Linked DNA regions of Homo sapiens: region 2 is linked to region 1. Evidence: promoter capture Hi-C in human tissues and cell types (Jung and others, 2019). All regions are on one chromosome and are shown on one strand. Each heading gives the region's core, a stretch centred on a gene start or on the middle of the fragment in contact. The rest is flanking DNA. Distances are from core to core; before and after follow the strand shown.

Region 1 (7,201 bases), core at 3,701-6,200:
GGATCACTTAAGCCCAGGAGTTCAAGACCAGCCTGGGCAACATGGGGAGACCCAGTCTCTACAAAAAATTAATAAATTGGCCAGGTGTAATGGCACATACCTGTAGTCCAAGCTACTCTGGAGGCTGAAGTGGGAGGATCACTTGAGTCCAGGAGGTAAAGGATGCAGTAAGCCTTGATTGTATTACTGCACTCCAGCCTGGGCAACACAGTAAGACCCTGTCTCAAAACAAACAAACAAAACAACAACACACTAAATGAGAAATCATCTGTATTAGTCCATTTTCACACTACTGATAAAGGCATACCCGAGACTGAGCAACTTACAAAAGAAAGAGGTTTAAGGGACTCACAGTTCCATGTGGCTGGGGAGGCCTCACAATCATGGTGGAAGGTGAAAGACACATCTCACATGGCCGCAGACAAGAGAAGAGAGCTTGTGCAGGGAAACTCCCCTTTTTAAAAATCATCAGATCTCATGAGACTTATTCACTATCACTAGAACAGCACAGGAAAGGCCTGCCCCCCATGATTCAATTACCTCCACCGGGTCCCTCCCACAACACATGGGAATTCAAGATGAGATTTGGGTGGGGACACCCAAATCATATCATCATCTCACCCCAGTTAAACCATATCATCATCTCACTCCAGTTAATGCAGCTCTTGGCTGGGCACAGTGGCTTGTGTCTGTAATCCCGGCACTTTGGGAGGCCAAGGTAAGCAGACAATTTAAGTTCAGGAGTTCCAGAGCAGCCTGGTGAACATAGTGAAACCCTGTCTTTACTAAAAATACAAAATTTAGCTGGGCATGGTGGCGGGCCCCTGTAATCCCAGCTACTCTGGAGGATGAGGCAGGAGAATTGCTTGAACTGAGAGGAGGTTCATAAAATAAAAATAAAGGCTGTGTTTGTATCGCTGGGAAATTTTCTTTTATTGCTGCTTTGGTTATTTCCTCTCTTGTTTACTTCTTTCTTTCTGTAACTATCTAGATGGATCCTCCATGTCACAACTTCTCTTTTCCTTTTGGCAGTTTTCTGGGAGAAACCCTCAGTTTGTTTATTTATTTTGAGATGGAGTTCGCTCTTGTTGCCCAGGCTGGAGTGCAATGGCGTGATCTCGGCTCACCAAAACCTCTGCCTCTTGGGTTCAAGTGATTCTCCTGCCTCAGCTTCCTGAGTAGCTGGGATTACAGGCATGCGCCACCATGCCTGGCTAATTTTGCATTTTTAGTAGAGACGGGGTTTCACCATGTTGGCCAGGCTGGTCTGAAACTCCCGACCTCAGGTGATCTGCCCACCTCAGCCTCCCAAAGTGCTGGGATTACAGGCATGAGCTACCGTGCCTGGCCTGTGTATTTTTGGAGACAGAGTCTTGCTCTGTTGCCCAGGCTGGAGGGCAGTGGTGCAAACTCTGCCTCCCGGGTTCAAGCGATTCTCGTGCGTCACCTCCCAAGTAGCTGGGGCTAGAGGCATGTGCCACCATGTCTGGTTACTTTTTATATAAACCTTCAGTTTAATCTTTTAGCTTACTGCTGTGTTTTTCAGCTTTATTCACTTTGCTTTTTTTCTATATTTTCGTTTCAACTCAACTTTTAAAAAATCATACTTGTATATTTGTATATTTATATTTATTTTCCAAGACCTCATTTGCCTCTTTTTCATAATGGGCTATTATTGCTCCATGGTACAGAATCTTCTGTTCTTTCCTAAACTATTAGTTATTTTTAAAATATTTGTTAACTTTCTCCCCCTTGCTAGTTCTCAGGTACCCGCTTTCTCCCAGAGTGCTGGCTTTCCTTAATTATTTGCTGACTTGTGCTGGTGTGTAACCCTTCATACTTAGGTATTTCTATTTGTCTGACTGCTGATTTGATTCCAATCCAGTGTTTCTTCTGATTCGTGGAGAAGAGACGACAACGCTGTGAGGCTCTGGTTTTGGTGGCTTGTCTGGGTGTGGGAGCTCCTTGTCATCATGGGATTTTTAGCTCCCTGGGTCGCCATCCTACATGGCCACTCTCCTGCCGATGCTGCCCGCTACTCAGCAGGAGGGGAAGTCGAGACCACCTCCTTAACCTTACAGACATTGATTGTGAGCTTGGAGCACCTTCCGTGACTGGACCACCCATGCAGTGGTCCTTTGCTTTTTGCATTTTTAACTGCAATTTTCCCCAAGAGTCTTCCCTAATACAGTCTCTTAGGAATTGACGGTGGGATTAAACAAGGCATGTTTCTGCACTGAATATGGTCTATGGGTTGCCACTTTGCAACCTCAGCTTTAAGGCTTATTTCCTCCCAGGAAACTGATGTTAACTTTTTAAGTTAAAAATGTGTATATAAGTAATACATGTTTATTTTGGAAATTAGAAAATACAGGCCAGGTGTGGTGGCTCATGCCTGTAATCCCAGCATTTTGGGAGGTTGAGGCAGGAGGATTGCCTGAGCCCAGGAGTTTGAGACCAGCCTGGGCAACATAGGGAAATTCCATCTCTACAAAAAAATTAAACATTAGCTGGGTGTGGTGGTGCCCACCTGTGGTCACAGCTACTCGGGAGACTGAGGTGGGAGGATAGCTTGGGCAGGGGAGGTTGAGGCTACAGTGAGCCACGATCACACCAATGTGACACAGTGAGACCCTGTCTCAAAAAAAAAAAAAAAGAAAGAAAATATAGGTAAACACAAAGACAAAAAAGCAGGGCATGGTGGCTCACACCTGTAATTCTAGCACCTTGGGAGGCTGAGGCAGGAGGATCACTTGAGGTCAGGAACTCGAGACGAGACCAGGCTGGGCAGCATGGCGAGACCCCATCTCTATAAAAAGTACAAAAATTAGCAGGGCACGGTGGTGTGCACCTGTGGTCCTGCTACTTGGGAAGTTGAGGTGGGAGGATCACCTGAGCCCTGGAGGTTGAGGGTGCTGTGAGCCATGATGGCACCACTCCACTCCAGTCCAGGTGAAAGAGCCAGATCCTGTCTCAAAAAAAAAAAAAAAAAAAAGTGGCTGGGCATGTAAACTTACCAAGGACCAAGGAGACAAGTCTTGAGAGAAAGGAAGGCAACTCAAAGGATGGACTTTTAAACACTTGTAACCAGCATTGGGAACAGTAGTAGGTTGAAGAGGGAAATCTAGAACTCATGCCTGAAAACTGCCAGTCATCCAGCCCATTTTTCCATACAGACATTTGGAAATAAGTTAATGGAGCCATTTTGGTGAGAGCCCTCTGTTCCCTTCAGGAGGCCTTTGTCAGGAAGAGGGTGGGGCAGGGGACTCACCCCCCACTCAAATCTGGAACTGAAACCAGCTTCAAAGCCGAGTGCAGAGCCAGCGCGGTGGCTCATGCCTGTCATCCCAGCACTTTGGGAGTCCAAGGCAGGCCTCACTTGAGGTCAGGAGTTCCAGACCGGCCTGGCCAACATGGTGATTGCACCACTGCGCTACAGCCTTGGGTGACAGAGCAAGACTCTGTCTCAAAAAACAAAACAACAATAAAACAAAGCAGAGTGCAGGAGTGGCTGTGGACTCTGGACGCCCTGCTAGGATTAGGATGGGTGTTCCTGGCTCATGGGCCTCACTGGCTCTTCTGATGCCCTGCCACCCCCACCCCAGACTGGCTTTGAGCCCCGGAAACCTTGACAGCTTTCTAGAGGTGTCTGTCAGTTAGGTTGTGCCACGCGAAGTTGCCGTTTCTGCAGGTCAAATAGTGGTGGACTATTGGCAATTTCTAGGCACCTCTGGTCTGGTTGATCCAAATCCTCCAACCTGTGGCACATTTATTTAGCGCTCATTTTGTGCCAGCCTGCCTGCTAAGCAACTTATAGCCATTTTTATTTGTATTTATTTTTCTTTTTGAGACAGGGCCTCGCTCTGTCGCCCAGGCTAGAGTGCAATGGCGCAATCTCGGCTCACTGCAACCTCCACCTCCCGGATTCAAGCGATTCTCCTGCCTCAGCCTCCCGAGTAGCTGGGATTACAGGGGTGCACCACTACGACCGGCTAATTTTTGTTATTTTTAGTAGAGACAGGGTTTCACCGTGTTGGCCTGGCTGGTCTTGAACTTCTGGCCTCAAGTGATCCACCCGCCTCGGCCTCCAAAAGTGCTAGGATTACAGGCATGAGCCACCGCGCCCCACTATAGCCATTTTTAAACTGTCCCAAGTTTCTGAGGAAACGGAATTGTTCACCATTTGACAGAGAAGAAAACTCTGGCTCAGATACTCCCCTTTTAGAATTGTTTCGGGGGCTGGCTCGTCCGTCAAACTTTAAAAAAATAACAACAGCATGCTGAGTTGAAGTTAAAAGAGCTGGGGTCTGGAGGTCGCTGGGCTCAGGGGCGCTGCCACTCAACAGCTGCGCCGAGCTGGGGACGCGCAGGGGAAGCAAGTTCCCAGCTCTGTGGACTCCAGGTCTGAGAAAAATCCTGTCGGTATTCAGCCACCCAGTGTTCCCATCAATACGATGAGAATAATGAGGACAATAGCCACCACGTCCGGCAAACTCAGGCGTGAGCTGCGAGGACTCGGTACCGCCCGGCAGGGAAAAAGCAGGGCCTGGAGGCCGAGGAGCCCCACCCGCACCCACCACGTGGAGCCGGCCGGGCCTGCGGCGAAGCCACAGGGCGACTCCCGGGGCGCGGAGCGGGGCGGGGGCGGGACTAGCACGGCCCCACTCTGCCGACGCCTCTCCCAGGTCGCGACACCGGCGAGCCGCTCCGCCCGGCCACCGTGTCCCTCAGCACCCACGGACGCCGGGAGAGGAGGAGGTGGCGAGGGGCACGGCCGGGAGGCGTGGCCTCCGCTTCCCCTTTTTTTTTTTTTTTGGTCCGCCTAGCTAAGGAAAGGTTCCCCTGCGCCTTTAAGAGGCCGACGCGGGCAGCCGATTGGCCCAGACGCCTCGGTGACGTCACGCCGGGGCCGGAGCCCTCCCCCTCCCGCCGCGCCGCGCGCTCGCGGACAGTCGGCGCGCGGGCCGGGCCGGGCCGGCGCCCCTCTGCCTCGCGCGCTTGTCGCGTTGCCCCGGGCTCCGGGGGATGCCCCCGGCCGAGCCCTTCTCATGGCCGCCGACGTCTTCATGTGCTCCCCGCGCCGGCCTCGCAGCCGGGGCCGCCAGGTGCTGCTCAAGCCCCAGGTGTCCGAGGACGACGACGACTCGGACACGGATGAGCCGTCCCCGCCGCCCGCCTCCGGCGCGGCCACCCCGGCCCGGGCCCACGCGAGCGCCGCGCCACCGCCGCCTCGGGCCGGGCCGGGCCGCGAGGAACCTCCGCGCCGCCAGCAGATCATCCACAGCGGCCACTTCATGGTGTCGTCGCCGCACCGAGAGCACCCGCCCAAGAAGGGCTACGATTTCGACACGGTCAACAAACAGACGTGCCAGACCTACAGCTTCGGCAAGACTAGCTCCTGCCACCTGTCCATCGACGCCTCGCTCACCAAGCTCTTCGAGTGCATGACTTTGGCCTACAGGTAGGGACCCCCGCGACCCCCTGAGGCCCCGGCCGGAGGCCCTTGTTTGACAAAACAAGCGTGGAGGGAAGGGCCGCCTGGCAACCCCGTGGCTTCATGCATTCCCTTTGGGTCTTCCTCCTTCGGGAGGGTTTATGGATCTGGGGTTCCCCGCGTTGCCAGAGGAGCCGGGGTCCTGGCCTCTTCCCCTGCCAGCAGTGCCGGGGTCCTTTCGGGTTCACGTTCCCCATCCAGGCCCTCCCCTCCAGTGTCCTGGGACCACCGATGTTGGACGAGGAAGAGGTATAAACACTGGCTGCATCTTGTGTTACCCGACTCTATCGACTCCTTCCTCCAAACGCTTTGTGTGTTTCCCCCATATCCAGCAGCGGTCAGGACCACCTGTTCGGGGTGACTGGAGGCTGGCTCTGCTGTTTAATGGTTGTGTAACACCTCGGAGCCTGTTTCCTCCTTTATAAAAGGGGAATGACTGTAGTGTCTGCCTCCAAGGGGCTGTTGTGGGGATGGAGTGAGATAGGTAAATTGCTTATTCCAGTGCTTGGCCAGAGTTAGGTGTCCCTGCACCTGGAGGCTGGCCCCCTTACAACCTCATCGGGAGGCCCGCCCCCATCTCGGGAGGGCTTTGGGTGCCTCCTAAGAAGACTTTTGGTGCCACAGCTGTTGGAGGTGCAGTCTGTCCTTCTGGCAAGTTGGAGGGTTTTCTGGCCGGTCCTGAAACATTATATGAGGGAGATGTCATTGTTGAGGGCAGACATCCCAGACACCGTTCTGACATGTGGATTCGGCTCTGGGCAGAGATTCCTCTTTTCCAAGTCACAGAAAATGCCTGGCCCTCAAAGATTAAAGCGCTTTTTCACTCTCTCTCCCTTTCCCACTATGAATATTAGGTATTTGCTGCAGGTAACTTTTTTGTCTGCGCAACAGAACTTCTTTGGACTGGCAGCAGCGGCCTTGAGCAGCTTGGCCCTGCAGAAAGCTCATGATGGGATCTCTGCTGAGTTAAGCTTATTGCATTAGGAACTGGACTAGCGGGGGCTGTCTTAGGTCTGCTCTGGAGGCATCGCGGGAGAAGTTTCCTAGGAGACTCCATAAACAGCGTAATAAAAGAGCAGGAATATCTTGCCCCCTCTCACCTCACCTTTTTAAGAGAGCTGTGAGCCCCAAGCATATCCAGGTTTAAATGTTATGCTTTTACCTGAAGTTAAAATATTAGATACTTAGCCCTGGATGGCACCCCCCTCACCGCCGCGGTCCCTGGAATAAACGATTAGTCAACTTGTTCTTTGTTATGTTCCTGAAACACCCCTATTTCCTCTCTTGAAGGTTTCCCTGATGATCTGTTCCCGTAGCTCCTCCTCCCATCCCCCTTACCCGGCACATTGGTCAGTCTCTGCTGATTCTCTGGTCTTGCCAGTTTGAGCTGGCACTGAGCCTGTAAAGATGTTCTGCTTTTTAAAAAACAAATGGTGTTGAGGCTGCAGCCCTGTGCGCCCTCCAGTCTCTGATTTTGAGCAGTTCCATTGGAATCAAACCCGACTGGATCGCAGCATATGCTATGCCTCGAGAGAGCCTTTTCAAACAAAGCTCGAGGTGAAAGACTGGAATGTATCTTATTAAGAAAACTTAATCCTCTTCTTTATTTTAATATAAACTTCTACATATACAGGGAGAGAATGGATGAGTCACGGGGGGCATGGACTGGAAAGGTCTCACCTAAGTAAGCTCTGCTAAATGAAAACT
Region 2 (6,915 bases), core at 4,043-6,542, 320 kb before region 1:
TACAAGATTCAGAGACATCAGCGAATGTTTGGCCACACCAGGATGTGAACAGCAGACATTCTGACTCCAAAGCCCACGTTCTTTGTATTTTCCCCCTTCAGAGAAGTCCCCGTTCCCTCCCTTAAGTGATGTCATTGCCACCTTGTTCTGGAGAGAGAGAGCTGCTTACAGCCTCATATCATCATGACCTGACTTAACGCTGCTGAGCACAGTCAGTTCACCCTGACCCTGTTTTCCGGATCAGCCTCGCGCTGAGTCAGAGCCGTGCATTAGGAGGAGGGGCTCCTTTCAGGCCTGTAGCGGGTGGGAGGGAGCTGGCTAGCCCTGTTATATTTTAACCCATTCCTCCGAGCTTCTCCTTTTTGACTGTGTTCGAATAGACCCCATGAGTTAAGTGATGATCATTTTCTGCAGAATGAGCAGCAGCCTAGCATTCGTGACCCTCTTACAGTGTCATGCGTGTCTGCCTTCCTGCCCCTCTGTCCCTAGGCCTCTGTGCCTCTTAACCTCAGTTGGGAATCTTTGGATTGCAAACGATAGAAAACCCAACTCAAGGCCGGGCGCGGTGGCTTGTGCCTGTCATCCCAGCACTTCGGGAGGCCGAGGTGGGAGGATCACTTGAGCCCAGGAATTCAAGACCAGCCTGGACAACATTGTGAGACCACATCTCTACAAAACTTTAACAAAATTGGTGTGCTGGTGTGTACCCATAATCCCAGCTACTTTGGCGACTGAGGTGGGAGGACTACTTGAGCCTAGAGGTTCAAGACTGCAGTGACGCTGGGCACAGTGGCTCATGCCTGTAATCCCAGCACTTTGGGAGACGGAGGCAGGTGGATCACTTAAGGTTAGGAGTTCAAGACCAGCCTGGCCAACATGGTGAAACCCCTAAACCTACTAAAAATACAAAAATTAGCTGGCCTGGTGGCACGTGCCTGTAATCCCAGCTACTTGGGAGGCTGAGGCAGCAGAATTGCTTGAACCCAGGAGGTGGAGGTTATAGCGAGTCCTGATCGTGCCACTGCAGTCCAGTCTGGGTGACAGACCGAGACTCTGTCTCAAAAAAAAAAAAAAACAAAAAACACTGCAGTGAGCTATGATCATACCATTGCACTCTAGCCTGGGCAACAGAGTGAGACCCTGTCTCTAAAAATAATAACAATGATAATAATAATAATAATGAAAAATAAAGAAAATTCTTTAAAAATTGACCTAGAGGTTGTACCTTTGCCTCCACCTCATTGGCTATGCTTAGTCACCTGCTCACATCTGGCTGCAAGGCAGGCTTAGAAATACGGTCTCTAGGGTAGCATGGAGGAGAAATCGACTCCTCACACTGTCCTGTCACAGGTTAATGTCCTTTGGTTAGTTGTCATTCTCACTCGATGTGGGGGCCCATTTGCCCGCTGAGCTTAGGCCCCCTATCTTCTAACATCAGTGCTTGGGATGTGCTCATTAAGTGTGTTGAGTTTGAATGTTGTTGATTCGCACCCACCTGCTAAGGATCATGCCCCTCACAGGTGTTTCCTTCCAGGCTCTACTTGAACCTGGTCCTCGGCAATGTGAACGTGACCCTCCTCAGCAACCAGGCCAAGTAAGTGTCCCCCACCCACCACCCAGACCCACACCTCACACCGCCCCCACACCCACACCCACACCCCAAACCCCACACTGAGAACCCACACCCCACATCCACACCCACACCAACACCCCACACCTCAAACCCACACCCACACTCCACACCAACACCCCACCCACACCAACACCAACACCAACACCACACCCACACCCCACACTGCGAACCCACACCCACACCCACACCCACACCCCACACCACACACTCAAAACCCACACCCCATGCCAACACCCCACCCACACCCTACACCCACACCCCATACTCACACCCCACACTCCACACTCACACTCCACACCTTACAGCCACACCTACACCCCACACCCCATACACAACACCCCACACCAACACCACACACCACACTCCACACCCCATACCCACACCCCACACCCACACCACACACCACACCCCACATCCCACACCCACACCCCACACCCCACACCCACACCTCACCCCACACCCCACACTAACACCCCACACCCACACCACACACCCCACACCCACACCCCACACCCCACACCCCATATTCACACCCCACACCCAACACCCACACCCCAAACTGACACCCACTCTCTACACCCATATCACACTCCACACTCACACCCCACACCTACACCCCACACCCACACCCCAAACCCAAACCCACACCCCACACCTTACACCCATACCTATACCCCAAACCCACACCCCACACCTAACACCCCATACCCCACACCCACACCTATACTCACACCCCACACCCAACACCCCACACCCCCATTCACACCCCACACCTAATACCCAACACCCCACACCCCACACCGACACCTATACCCACACCCCACACCCACACCCCATACCCCACACCCACACCACACACCCCACACCCACACCCCACCCCACACCCACACCCCACCCCACACCCCATATTCACATCCCACCCCACTCTCACCCCACACCCTATCCTACACCCCAACCCACACCCCGTCTCACGCTTTTCACCTGGCTCAGAGGCCTCCGGCATTCTGTTCCTTCAGCTCAGGGAAGTTGCATCTAAGCTAGAATTTTTGCATAAATAAAAACCTGGTCACAGGTGAGGCGCTGGCTTTTGGAGTTTCTGACACTCTCCTCCTCTGTAGGTAGAGCACCTGGGAGAGGGTTGGTTCCTTGGTTCCTTCCCTTCCTTCCCTCCCTCCCCTCCCTCCCCTCCCTCCCTTCCTCCAAGTCAGTATGTTGGGTGGACAGGACTTCCCATTTCGCACAAGAAATGGCCCTGCTCTGTTTCACGCCCTATCACACACATAGGGAGATGGGCAGTCCAGTCTACTCTGAGTCTACCCCATTTCCAGACAGCCGCAAACCCTGGCCTTTCAGCAGCAGCAGTTGGTTGAGGGAAGAGGCCCTGTCTCTGCCCCCTGCCTGTCCCCAGCATGGGCCCAGAGCCCCAGACCAGAGTCCAGGGACATGGGCCTTCTGCATACTTGGCCCTCTTCCCCTCATTGGTCACCACTAACCCGTCAAGGCCAGGTCTTTCCTTTAGTGGAATGGGAAGGTCCTTATGGGCCATGGCAGTGGCTGAAGGACAAGGGTCTGATGGGGCTGAGGGCCATGCCCAGGTGCTGGAATAGTCATGGTAAGGGGCACACCCCTGGGCGTGTCTGTCGTGGCAGGTTCGCCTACAAGGACGAATATGAGAAGTTCAAGCTCTACCTGACCATCATCCTGCTCCTGGGTGCCGTGGCATGTCGATTTGTCCTTCACTACAGGTAGTGGGTGTGGCCGTGTGTGCCTGGGCCTGGGCATGCAGACGTCAGGTGGGGGCCGGGAGAGAGGGATCCAGGGGACCCGGAGCCTCTCCTGCTTCTGTGTTGTTTGGCATGATGAGGTGTAGGGGAGAGAGGGGCCATTTCTCATGGGAAATGCCAGTCCTGTCTGCCCCACCTCCATCCAACAAGTATCTGTTAAACGGCTGCTGGAAAGGCCTTGTACTGTACTAGTTAAGAAGGAGTTCATTACCTGGCGCGGTGGCTCACGCCTGTAATCCCAGTACTTTGGGAGGCCGAGGCAGGCAGATCATTTGAGGTCAGGAGTTCAAGACCAGCCTGGCCAACATGGTGAAACCCTGTCTCTACTAAAAATGCAAAAATTAGCCAGGCATGGTGGAGTATGTCTTTAGTCCCAGCTACTCGGAAGGGTGAGACAGGAGAATCGCTTGAACCCAGGAGGCAGAGGTTGCAGTGAGTTGAGATCGCTGCACTCCAGCCTGGGTGACAGAGTCTTGCTCTGTCACCCCAAAAAAAAGGAGTTCACTGTGGTCTATCTGTACAGTGGCATATCATTCAGCTATGAAGAGAAATGAAAAGTTGGGCGTGGTGGCTCACACCTGTAATCCCAGTACAGTACTTTGGGAGGCAGGAGGACTACTCGAGGTCAGGAGTTTGAGCCTATCCTGGGTAACACAGCAAGACCCCCATCTCTACAAAGATAAAAAATAAAATTATTTAGCTGGGTGCAGTGGCTCACACCTGTAATCTCAGCACTTTGGGAGGCTGAGATGGGAGGACTGTTTGAGTCCAGGAGTTTGAGGCTGCAGTGAGCCATGATCACACCACTGCACTTTAGCCTTGGGGACAGAGGGAGACCTGGTCTGAACAAAAGGGAGAGAGAAATGAAGTACTGTCACCAGTACGGAGCCAGGCTGCAGCATGGATGAACCTTGAAAATGTGATGCTGAGTTAAAGAACCAGTCACAAAAAGATACACAGTAGGATTCCATTGCTGAGAACTGCCCAGAACAGGCAAATCTATAGAGACGGGGAGTAGGTGAGTGGTGGCCAGGGGCTGCGGGAGGCAGGAAGGAGGGCATGACTGCTACTGGGTACAAGGTTTTTTTTTAGAGTAATAAGAATGTTCTCCCAGCCTGGGCAACATGGTCAAACCCTGTCTCTACTGAAAATACAAAAATTAGCCAGGCGTGGTGGTGGGTGCCTGTAATCCCAGCTACCCAAGAGGTTGAGGCAGGAGAATCACTTGAACCTGGGAGGCAGAGGTTGCAATGAGCCAAGATTGTGCCACTGCACTCCAGCCTGGACAACAGAGCGAGACCTTGTCTCAAAAACAAACAAAAAAAAAAAGAATGTTCTGGAGTTAGGTAATGGTTGTACAACTCTGAATATACTAAAAATCACTAAATTATATACTTTAAAAGAACAAGTTTTATGGTATGTGAATTATATCCCAATTATATTTAAAAAAAAAAAGAGAAAAAGAGAAAAGAAAATGGTTTTGAGACCAACTGGCTGTTACTATGGGCAGGTTCCCTCTGGGAGCCTCAGTCTCCCCATCTGTAAAACAAGGGTGACGGCAGTCCCTGCCTCACAGGGCTGTGACAATTCAGGGAGCTGGCACCGTGTGTGGAAGCTCCACCCTGGCTGGCACGTGGAGGCGCTGCTGGGGGTGCTCCCCAGCTGCTGGTACCGTCCAAGTGCAGCACAGCCATGCCGTGAGGCTGTGGGCTGCTGCTGCCCTGCCTGGGCTGCTGTTCCTTTCTCTGGCCCTGGGTTCTCTGTCCCCAGGGGAAGCGGTCAAGTACGGTTTGGGCATTTGGCCTATGTGCCAAGCGTTTATTGCCTGGCAGGCACTTGGCTGGGCATCCGGCTGCTGGTCTGGCCACTTGAATGCCCAAACAAAGGCTCTTTCAGGCCCTGGGCCCGTGCTCGCCTGCTGCCCAGAGCCTGGCCTGTTTCCACGAGGGCAAAGGCTGCACACATCTGTACTACTCCTCATGTGCCTCCCTCAAAGAGGGTAAAAGTTGTCAATGTGCAGCCACAGTCCCTTGCACAGGGACCTCCAGGGCCCTCCGAAGGCAAACCCTTGCTGTCCTGAGGCCCAAGGTTCCCCGAGGGCCTGGGCGTCTCTTTTTCTCCTACCTGCTTCTGTGTTCATCTCCTAGGGCCACTGTAACTAAGTACCATAGACTGGGGGCTTAAAACGACAGACACATTTTCCCACAGTTCTGGAAGCCGGCGGTCTGAAAGCAGGGCGTGGCAGGGCCATGCCGCTCCACAGGCTTCGGGGAGGGAGGACCCTTCCTCGCCTCTCCAGCTTCTGGGAATTGCCAGCAAGCCCGTATTGCCTGGCTTAAAGCTGTGTTTCACTCGCCTCTGTCTCTGTCACCACGCCACACGGCCTCCTTCCCTAGTGTAAGGACACTAGACACTGGATTTAGAGCCCACCCTAACACAGTATGACCTCATTTGAACTAATTCCATCTACAAAGACCCTGTTTCCAAATAAGGTCACATTCTGAGGTCCCAGTGGACGTGAATTTTGGAAGGATGCTATTCAACCCAGTACACCTTCTATAGGCTAAAAACGGGGCAGAGGAGGGGGATTGGACGGGCCGTTCATCTCTGTGCCGGTGCCCCCGGGAAGCCTGCCCTGCTGTTTAACCTTAGGCAAATGACGAACCTCTCCCAGCCTCAGTTTCTTGACAGATACAGTGAGCGTGACAGGAGCTACTTGGCAGGGCAGCTTGGAGGGCAGGAGAAGCTGTGTCTGGAGACTGGTTAGACTGGTGCCTGTTTAAATATTAGCACCGGTTAGCATCACCGTTGTTTTGGGCTAAGACTGGGCATACGGGAAAAAGGCTCACAGCTTCATAGCTAGTGCGTCCACAGAGCAGGATTCTCTTTTCTTCCTCTTGCCCCTCTTGGGATGGTTTCCTGGCTAGGCTCCCCACCCGGAGGCCCTTCTTGGTACCACTAAGCCTGCAGCTGGGCATGGCCAGCATCCTCTAGGGTTCTGGGTCCAGCTCTGCCACTCACGGGCTTTGTGACCTGAAGTGGATCCCTGGGCCTCTCTGTCTGTCTCCTCACCTTTTCCACAGGCTCCAGGACATCTACTCCACCAGTACTCCTTGGGCGTTTGGAGGCTTTGGTGAGGCAGCAGGAGAGTTGGAAGCCTCCTTCTGCTGCCTTCAGGCCAAGAGGCTGTGCCTGGTTAGGACTGTCCTCTATCAGGTTTGAACCAGGCTAGGAAAGAGGTAGTCAGAGTTAATTTTGGCTCGAGTGGGCTTGGGTTTGGACCTCACTCCAGTGCTTGCCGTCTGTGTGATCTGTAAAATGGGAAGTGGTACTGTCTTAGTGTGGGTTGGCCCAGAAGAGACCCCCAAGACAAGCATTTTAGTGCCAGTAGTTTATTTAGGAGGTGATCCCAGGAGACACTGGTAGTGGAATGGGAAGTGAGGCAAGAAAGCATTATCCTGTGGGTAGTTGGAGCTCAATACTGCTAGGGAATGAGGG

Evidence for each region. The method cuts DNA at HindIII sites, captures the fragments that hold promoters and counts their contacts. A contact is called where the count stands out against the background at its distance.
Region 2: a fragment that was not itself captured here is called in contact with the fragment with the promoter of MLXIP in region 1 in 1 of the 25 tissues and cell types used here (spleen).

What each region holds. Positions count from the first base shown.
Region 1 is chr12:122,073,806-122,081,006 of GRCh38, forward strand. MLXIP (MLX interacting protein) reads left to right here and starts at 4,951. Exons shown (of 17, transcript NM_014938.6): 1 at 4,951-5,461. The coding sequence starts at 5,049. RefSeq lists enhancers at 3,177-3,226, 5,294-5,533 and silencers at 4,494-4,773, 4,784-5,233. The HindIII fragment of the contact is 9,979 bases long and covers 1-6,921 here.
Region 2 is chr12:121,748,846-121,755,760 of GRCh38, forward strand. It overlaps TMEM120B (transmembrane protein 120B), which reads left to right. Exons shown (of 12, transcript NM_001080825.2): 4 at 1,535-1,594; 5 at 3,283-3,378. Among named protein-coding and RNA genes, the nearest start is that of TMEM120B, 40 kb to the left of the region's middle. The HindIII fragment of the contact is 7,829 bases long and covers 1,379-6,915 here.